Linked DNA regions of Homo sapiens: region 2 is linked to region 1. Evidence: promoter capture Hi-C in 16 types of primary human blood cells and fetal thymus (Javierre and others, 2016). All regions are on one chromosome and are shown on one strand. The core of a region is centred on a gene start or on the middle of the fragment in contact, and the rest is flanking DNA. Distances in the headings are between cores, read along the strand shown. Region 1 holds the start of CPA6 (carboxypeptidase A6). Region 2 overlaps C8orf34 (chromosome 8 open reading frame 34).

Region 1 (4,244 bases), core at 895-3,394:
GCAATGGTTGAGTGAGACTCACTTCTTTTCATTCTCTCATCTTTTTCTTCCCTCCTACTCTTAGACATCTGGTAATTTATACACTTGGGATTAACTTATGTAGCAACTGAAGAGAAAATAGCAATTATTATGTCCATTGCTGAAAACAGAGAAGGTAATGAAACTTTTTCCTGAAGGGTTCCAGTCGCTACAAATTCTATACGAAAAGGGTGCCACCACTGGCCTCATTTCCTCTTCAAAGTGGTGCTTAGGGAAGGGTGCACACCTGCTCAGCTGAAGCAGGCCTGGTAACTTTTCACGGAGGAGTGCCACACGCTGAAATAATTATGCACAGAGCCACAGCTGAGTGGAGGAGTGAGGTCTTAGGTCATACACGTGTGTCTAAATCTGTGATCTATGTTTATCATCTGACCCGGCATCAGCCAGGAGAGTCAGAATTAAGTCCCCCACAACCCAAGCCTGCACCATCAGTCTTTAAACATGAGCTTCTTTTTTCCAGATCTCTAAAGGGGTCACAAATTATCGGAGGTAAAGTTGAGATCTTGTATGTCCAGGCCAAAAGGCAGCCCTGGGATGTTAACTCCTTTCCGTTCCTCCCAGAAATACTGGGGTGGAAAAATCCGTGATCATATTGCCATCTATAGCCCCTACCTCAGCCAACACCTCCATCTCATCCTGCCTCCCCTAAAACTGAGGACATGTTTCCAAAATTTCCTCTGTAAGCACTGTATTCAGAGGAACCCTAAAGGCAGTGCCAAGATTCTTTGGGAGAGAAAGAGAAATACAATTCTCTTTTCCAGGGTCACACTTACAAATTCTCTTTTACACTATTTCTAAAAAGAACAACTTGGTTTTAAGACACTGTACACTACCTTGTCATGATCCAGATCTACATGAAAACTTTTCTCAGGTGGTGATTATTGAATGATAGTAGCCTATTTAAAAATATGTAAGACACTGAGTTTACTCCTCTGTAAAAAGGAATTGAACTAGAGGAAGTATTTAAGGTTTTTCCAGATCTAAAGTGCAGGCAAGCCATAATTTCCAGATTCTAAGAACGACCCCCTGCATATGTGAGCAAATCACATGCTGTCTATACCACAGCAAGCCTTCAGGATAATAAGAATGTGCATAGTAACACACGGCTTCCAGCCCTCTGCCTCCTGAAGAAAGGCATATAGAAAGCATGCTTACCTACGGAGGGGGGACAAAACTGATTGTTTTACTCCTATGTTTTTCCTTCAGAAAAACTATCCATAATTTTACAGTTGACTACTTTTATTCTGCTTATTTTGAGTTGAATCATTTGCATTGCTCATATTTAAAAATCTAATAACCACTCTACAGACTAATAAGCACAGACAAAAAAAAAATCACACTCAGTTCTTAATCACTGATGAATTTCAACCCACCGCTCCTACATACAATTGTAAAGAAAGGCTTAGTTTTCAGGTCATAAATCATGTAGGACAACAGCATCCCCAAGCATCAACCAAGGCAAACACTGTAAATACTGACCATGGCTACTCCAAAGACAGAATCCCATTCAACCCTGGGTCCACAGCTAAGGTTGGCACATGATAAAAAGTATAAAAAGCCAGGTTGGAGCCCACCACATTCTCTCAGTGAGCTAAAGCCAAGAGCAGAGAGCTGTGAGTACATTTTATATAGAGGACCGTGAAAGTGTGCAGATTCACTCAGAGACCCCCAAATCAGAAAAAGTGAGGCACACTCTGGAGCAAACCAGCCCCCAGATCCAAATCAAAGCTGTGTAGGGCATGAATGTCGCTCCACTTACCCAGCATAGCGGTTGTTATAAAGGTGGCTGTGCCCCGGTTGCAGAATCTTCAAAAAGAGCCAGCAAAGAGGCAGGAAAGCAGCTGCCTGGCCCCTGCGCTTCCCGAGACACTTCATAGTGTTAAGAAGAGAGGAGTTGAAAGTTACTTAAGCAGCCACCCGAGGCTGGAGGTGGCTCACAGCACCCTCTACACACCGCACAGGTTCTCCGGGAAGGGGGTGGGCGAGGAAGGTTGAGAGTGAGCAAAATGTGACACTTCTCTCCAGCTACAAGGGAAAAAAAAAGTTCAGGCAGCTGAGGAAGGGAAGTTGCTATTACGACTTGGTCTTGGGACAAGCAGCAGCAGCAGCAGCAGCAGCTGAGCCTGATCTTTAATCAGGCTCCCCTAGAAAGGGCTGGGCCTCCCTCGTGCTGACTCACGGCAGGGGTTCACTGGGTGCTGCTTCCTTTGGGTGACTCCTCTCTGCTTTTGGTTTGTTTGCTTTCCCAACTTGAGGCCTCTAACTTTTCTGTGCAAGCTTTCTTTCTCTATCTTCTTCAGCATGAGGATCCTACCTAATTGCAAATGATTTGTCTGATGGGCTAAACAAGCAGACATGGATTATTCCAAGCTTAATGTTTTTTTGATCTCCCATGACAGATTCCTAAACGGATTCCACCTAATGAAATGCACAATGAACAATCATGATGAGAACGTGCACGGGGGTACCTATAGCACCCAGATCCGAACAGCTGGCTTCAGTTCACTGCTCCTGACTTACAGGAGTGGTCAGTGGCTTTATTGGGCTTCAGGGAGATCTTGGTACTCATTCTGCATCAGCAGCACCCAGACCTGCTGCTGTTTCAGAGGTTCTCGTGGGGAATAGGAGGCCTTCGAGTGCTTTGCCACCTTGGCTGTACATTTGGAATCATTTAGGGAGCCAGACCTTGAAAATAGAAACCGTGGTGGTGGGATCAGTGGTTTAAAAAGCTCCTTAGGTGATTCCAATATTCAACCACCATGCTGGTCTGGAGCAGGGCTTCTCAGAGCTCCACATGCATAGAAGTCACCTGGGGATCTCATTAAACTGCAGCTCTGACGTAGGTTGGAACAGGGGCCTAAGAGTTTTTATTTTTCTTTTTTGAGACAGAGTTTCGCTCTTGTTGCCCAGGCTGGATGGAGTGCCAAGTCCCCATCTCGGCTCACTGCAACCTCCGCCTCCCAGGTTCAAGCGATTCTCCTGCCTCAGCCTCCTGAGTAGCTCGGATTACAGGTGCCTACCACCACGCCCAGCTAATTTTTGTATTTTTAGTAGAGACGAGGTTTCCCCATGTCGGTCAGGCTGGTCTTGAACTCGTGACCTCAGGCAATCTGCTTGTCTCGGCCTTGCGAAGTGCTGGGATTACAGGTGTGAGCCACCACGCCTGGCCGAGTCTGCATTTCTAAAGAAGCTTCCAGGTGATGCTGGTGCCACTGGCTCTTCAGCCACACTTGGAGTAGCAAGACTTCACTTTAGAATGAGGTCTGCTTTTTCTTCCAAGCAAACCTTGGAGAAAACCATTTCCTTCTCTTTTTTCCCATGTTGATGATGAAAGCTTTTTAAAATTATTATTTGCATCCACTTGCTCCTATTCCAATACGCCACAAAACCCATTACAGGGGATGTGCCTCGCCCTATTAAATAAGCATAGGCACCTAGGGTGCCTCCTGTTACCTTTCATGCCCAGTCCTGGTTGTGCTCTAAAACAGAGAGTGAGCCACTATTTCCTCATCACACTCACAAAACTTTTCAGGCTTCCTGGAGAGTCATAGCCAAGAACTCCTGTACCCTCTAATACTATAGCCAGAGTCCCTGTTAGAAGAGAGAGCACCCAATCTTTCCCATCTTCTCTACCTGGGGAGTTGAACCAAAACTCCTTTGACAGATTCAATGTCAGGTTCATGAAACAGCTGAAATGGTTTTCATTTGAAATGATGCTCTGAATTTTTCTGCAACTTTCTCAGCATCAGTTTGGTTAATGCCTCCTCTGTGTCCCTCACAAATCCTGGCATGTCCTCTACTGTAGGAATTACCACATCAAATTTCTTGTCTGGTTTCCTCATGAGGCTGCTTTCTCCTTGAATACAGAACTGTATCCTTTTGGTCTTCCTGTGCACTTCCTTATACCTCCTCGAGGGAATACAATGTTTCCTGAAGGAGTGATCAACGATGTCTGTTGGATGAACGATGAACCAGGGAAGAAATTCATTTAACAAACATTAACATAGATGCTTCTGTGTCCAGATAGAGGAGAGAGCACCTTGGGAGCAGAGAACACTATGGGTGCTTTTGGAGAGTGGAAGTTCCCCGGGTGATCATGTCTGGTTTCGTTTCTTTTTTATGTTGCCTTCTTTCCTGACTTCCTGGCCTTGTACTTTTGTCTTCCTAAACTGGTCAGGCTGCTCTGCAAGACTCACAGCAGTACT
Region 2 (4,831 bases), core at 125-2,624, 640 kb after region 1:
TTCTACAATGACTAGCATAATAAAAAAGCTTTGAAGTATTTAGCAATATTAACCTTAAGAAGGAAGACTTAAGGGGAATAGCACATATATTTCAAATATATGAAAGGCTGTTGTATAAAACATATATTTATTCTGTATCTGTTCAGGAGACAAAGCTAGAATCTATAGGTGGAAACAACGTAATACCATCCTAATGATATTAACTGTTTAAACATTGCATGGGTTGTCTTTTCTTCTATAACCTCCTAAGTGTCTATGACATAAGAAGCTGTCCTTGGGTAACTGCTAGTTCTGCTTAGATCTGTGTTATGATTTGAGAAATATTAAGGGATTTTCTTCTTCTTTCAAAATACCTTTTACCACTAGGACTTCTGCAGACCTTTAGACGCCCACGCTGTGTACAGCATTAGAGCAGGGTTGCTCAACCTCAGCTCTGCTGACATTTTGGACCAGATCATTCTTTGCTGTGGGAGCTGTCCTGGGCACTGTAGGATGTTTGGCAGCATTGCTGGCTTTTACCAACTAGATGCCAGAAATAGCCCTCCCCCAGCCGTGACAATGAAAGAAGTCTCCAGACATTGCCAAAAGTGCCCTGAAGGACAAAATCACCACAAATTAATAACTACTGCTTTAGGGAAAGGCATTAAGTTTCTTGCTAAAATGCAAATGTATTTTAACTGAGGTATTCCAAGCTGAAGGATGGCATGATACAAAGATGGGCATGATGGAGACCCACATGCAGTGTTTTCTTGGAGAAGTAGTTTGGTGTATCTGGCTCATGGTGCATGTGTGGGAGGAAGGTGAAAGGTGGTGATGGGCAGTAGCCTTATTCTGCACATGGACCGACTTCAGTGTCAGGCAGGAAGTGGGTACTAACTTTGTTAGGCAAGTGAGTATCACTAATGACATTTGGGTAGGAGAGTGCATGTCAAATTGCCACTTTGGGAAGATACATCTTATGGTGGTGTGTGGGGTGACTGGGATGTGTAAGGTATTAGTTAGCATTTATTACTAGCAGAGAAATGATGATGACCTAACCTAGGGTGATGGTTAAGTGGACCTGGGAAAGGAGGCAGCAGGTGAGGACTATTAAATAGGAAGTATAATTGAATAGTTATAGAGTGTGAGGTATGGGCAAGGATGATCCTGAAGTTTCAAATATGGATTAAAAAGATAAAGTTAATTTCCTTACAAATAGAGGAAGAAGGAGCAGCCATGCTGGTGGAGAGGATGATAGAGTCATGAATAGACACCAAGTTCCTAAGGAAGAAGATACAGAAATGGATGGAGATTTACCATAGGCAAAAGAGTTTCCTTCATAGCACTGTGTGTCTGAAAAAAAGAAAAAAACCTCGTAGAAAACCATTCTTAATGTTTGTGCAGAGCCAAAAGTAGTCAAAATAGCTCATTCTTTGATCTACCTATCTCATCATTTATTGAAATCTAAAACAAATACAAAATAGGTAATAGAGCATGAATGTGACAACTCTACAGTGTTTTTTTCTTTATTTAGCATATATGTAAATTTTGATAAATAATGTTATTTCCCTTCATCCACCTGAGTTAGTAAAAGGTATTTACTTGCTTTCAAACTTGAGCTGTCTTCTCTTGTTGCAGGACTTCACTGCTGCTTAGGGAGCTACTTACTGATTAGCACTGAGTGTGCATTTCATGGTAGTTGTGTTACAGTGGTTCTTGATTGCCTTCTGTTGTTGGTGGTAATTTTCCACTGATCTTTTCCAATTATGAATTCCATGAAGATTGCTTCTGGTTTTTGTTCCCAAGACCAATTTTGGTCTTATTCCAGATAAAACAGACATTCAATTTACCGTTTACCCACTCTTTACTCACTGTTTTCCATGGAAATATTCTTCACAAAGCCTGTATGAAGAGTTTTAGGATAAAGTGCAATTACTAATATTTTGTATTTGGCAAACTCAGTCCTTAAGCTGTTTAGTCTCTGTGTATTTCTGCAGAGCCCCAGTGGAGTCTGACATAGCTTTCCTTCTCTAGAGTTCATGAAAATTCTTGCCTGATCACCTCAGCTAGCTGAGAATCACCCCTTTTCTGACATGTAAAGTACATGTAACCACTTTCTATGTCATTATGGTATGCATTTTGATACAAAAATTTCTCTTCTATTAAAAAATCTCCTATTAGTCTTAAGCTCCTTAGGAATATGGACTTTTATCTCCCCTTCTCCTCCACTTTTCCCCCACCCCTTCAACTCACACACATAGTTTAGCCAGCCTGAGGCAATATGGCATCATGATACTCATCTGATGAGAAATGAACAAGTGGATATTCATCAAAAGAAATGAACAAGTGGATATTCATCAAGTTACTTTTGTAAGTTGATCTTTCTTGATACAGATCAGTTGCCCAGTGCCAAAACACAAAGTAGTCAAAGCCATGTTATAGAGGGGTAAAATAACAAGACCGTGTTTAAGACTATTTAGAGTAGTAAAAATAATTTGGTAGATGTAAAGTGGTACCCCAAAATTTGCATTTCTGTTTCCCAACATGCTGATGCTGCTGGTCCAGGGATCACATTTTGAGAACAACTGCCCTAAGCTGAGTTTTACATGAGTGATATAAGTTTCTCGTTAGCCTTTTCTGTCACATAACTGTACTGCAACTCTTTTGTATTGTCAGTTGATGAAGAATGTGTGCAAAAATATGGATTACAAGGTATGCTACCCAGGAAGTATTCAGTGAATTGAAGCTTTATTATTGCTAGTAGGGTCTGGCATTCGTATTTTTGTATGCATTCATTTTGCAGAGATTCATTAAATCTCCTGTCTCTGCTAGAAAATGTAGATAGAATAGTGAGCAAAATATTGTCCTCATGGAGCCTGTTATATATTGAATAAAAAGCACAGTAAGTGGGCAATTATAAAGTTCAAAGACCTGGTTTCCATGTCAGTTTTGCTTCATGATCTATGTTCTTGGACAGGCTCTTACTTTCCACATCTGTGATGTGGTGATGAGAATAATACTTGCATAGTTGCCAAGAGTTAAATGGGGCATCATATATATAAGTGCTATGTATGCTATTAAGTGCTACTCAAATGTGAGGTACAAAAAAATAAGAATCATCCCAGTGCATGTAGGAGAGATCATGGTAGATGGAATGAAATAGATGATTGGAAGGCATTGCGATGATTACTTATGGGCACATTTTAAGCACCTACAACACCTAAGTATACTTGTTATCCACATGGTACATTAGCCTCCCTTGTTAAGAGGCAGGGATTTAATTTGTAATTATCATATTGTAAAGGGCATGGGTGACTATCTTTTCAAATTGTTGCTTAGGAACTCAGAATTTATTAGACACTTGGACACTTCTTCAGCCAAGAGGTTACAAATTAAAAACCTGAAGGTGCGAGCAAATAAAAGAAGGTGATTTTTTGATATATATGAGATGATTTGACGATTTCTTTTCTATTTACTTTTGAAAGCCTTAGTGAACTTATCTGGGGAGAAATATATTTGCTTTTCACAGAAAGCAAAATCTAGTTCAAGGACGGTTTCTTTAGATGAAAATTATGTTTAGGCTTACATAATCCTAACGATGACCACTTTTCTTTTGACCTCTTTTCTAAGGTGTTATGTATTAAGCATGTGAGTAAGCATTTTGGTGAGCTGCAGTTACTCTTGAAGGGGTCACCACCACCATCACTATTGGAAGAAAGGTGACTCTTCCATTACCCTGGATTTGTGAATCGTATTTCAAATTTGAATGTGTTTTGCTTTTCCCCTCACTGTTGTATCTTTTGGTGTGGGATGTTTTGCCATGGAAAGAAGGAGAAAGAAGCAGGATGCAGTGGGCATACACTTAATTGGGGCTGAAGGACGTGAGGGCCCCTGTCCAGCCCACCATTCTGTGCCCTGGACAGCCCCTTAATGTGTTAGTGCCTTGGGTTGCATGTCTGAGTTGAATTCCATGAACTGAGTTTCGTTTCCTGAGAAAAGAAAAGTTTGAGAGAGAATCAAATTAACTGTTTAAATTCACGAAATCTTTTGAACAAAAGGGTAGTGGCCACTTGCTTTCTAAATATATCATAAAGGGGTCAAGAGGAAGTAGCTAGCAATAAGATAATGTATGTAATGACAAATGCCTTGGAAGTGGAAGTTAGTACATATCAGGACAGACTATGTATGGTTTATGTATCACATACAATTCATTAAAACTAGAACAGACTCTTTCTTTCCATCTCTGTTACTTCTATCCTTTTTTCTTTGGCTATGGGAATTTTATCAAGTTTGGATGGTGCAGGCTGTGTACATTCCCCAGGCATGGGTTTTGGAACACAGGGGATCTGACTGTGGAATCAAGTTCCATCTCTTAGAAGCTCAGATTTTTATCTATAAAATGGAGATGAAGGTTACCTTTGAGGGTAGTCACAGTCTGTATCAGTCAGGGTTCTCCAGAGAAACAGAGCCAATAGAGAGTTATTTTAAGGAATTGGCTCATGTGATTTTGGAGGCTGGCAAGTCTGAAATCTGCAGGGCAGGTCGGCAACTGCTCAGGCAGGAGTTGGTGTTGCTGCCTGGAGACAGACTTTCTTCTTCTTCAGGAAAGCTCAGTTTTTGCTTTTAAGGCCTTCAACTAGTAGGATGATGCCCACCTGCAGTATTAAGGGAAATATACTTTTCTTAAAGTCAACTGATTGTAGTTGTTAACCATAGCTACAAAATGTCTTTAGCAACACATAGATTAGTGTTTGATTAAATAACTGGGTACTATGGTTTAGCCAAATTGACACATAAAACTAACCATCAGATAGTCATCATATTAATCATAGCTGGTATTTACTTACTCCAT

Evidence for each region. Contacts are between HindIII fragments. The CHiCAGO score rates a contact against its expected background, and 5 or more counts as called.
Region 2: a contact is called between a fragment that was not itself captured here and the fragment with the promoter of CPA6 in region 1, in 1 of 17 cell types (M0 macrophages). The highest score is 5.4, in M0 macrophages.

Annotation. Positions count from the first base shown.
Region 1 is chr8:67,744,216-67,748,459 of GRCh38, forward strand. It overlaps CPA6 (carboxypeptidase A6), which reads right to left and starts at 2,145. Exons shown (of 11, transcript NM_020361.5): 1 at 1,799-2,145. The coding sequence starts at 1,914. RefSeq lists an enhancer at 1,971-2,471. The HindIII fragment of the contact is 5,003 bases long and covers 1-2,314 here.
Region 2 is chr8:68,386,336-68,391,166 of GRCh38, forward strand. All of the region lies in intron 1 of C8orf34 (chromosome 8 open reading frame 34), which reads left to right. Among named protein-coding and RNA genes, the nearest start is that of C8orf34-AS1, 57 kb to the left of the region's middle. The HindIII fragment of the contact is 2,697 bases long and covers 27-2,723 here.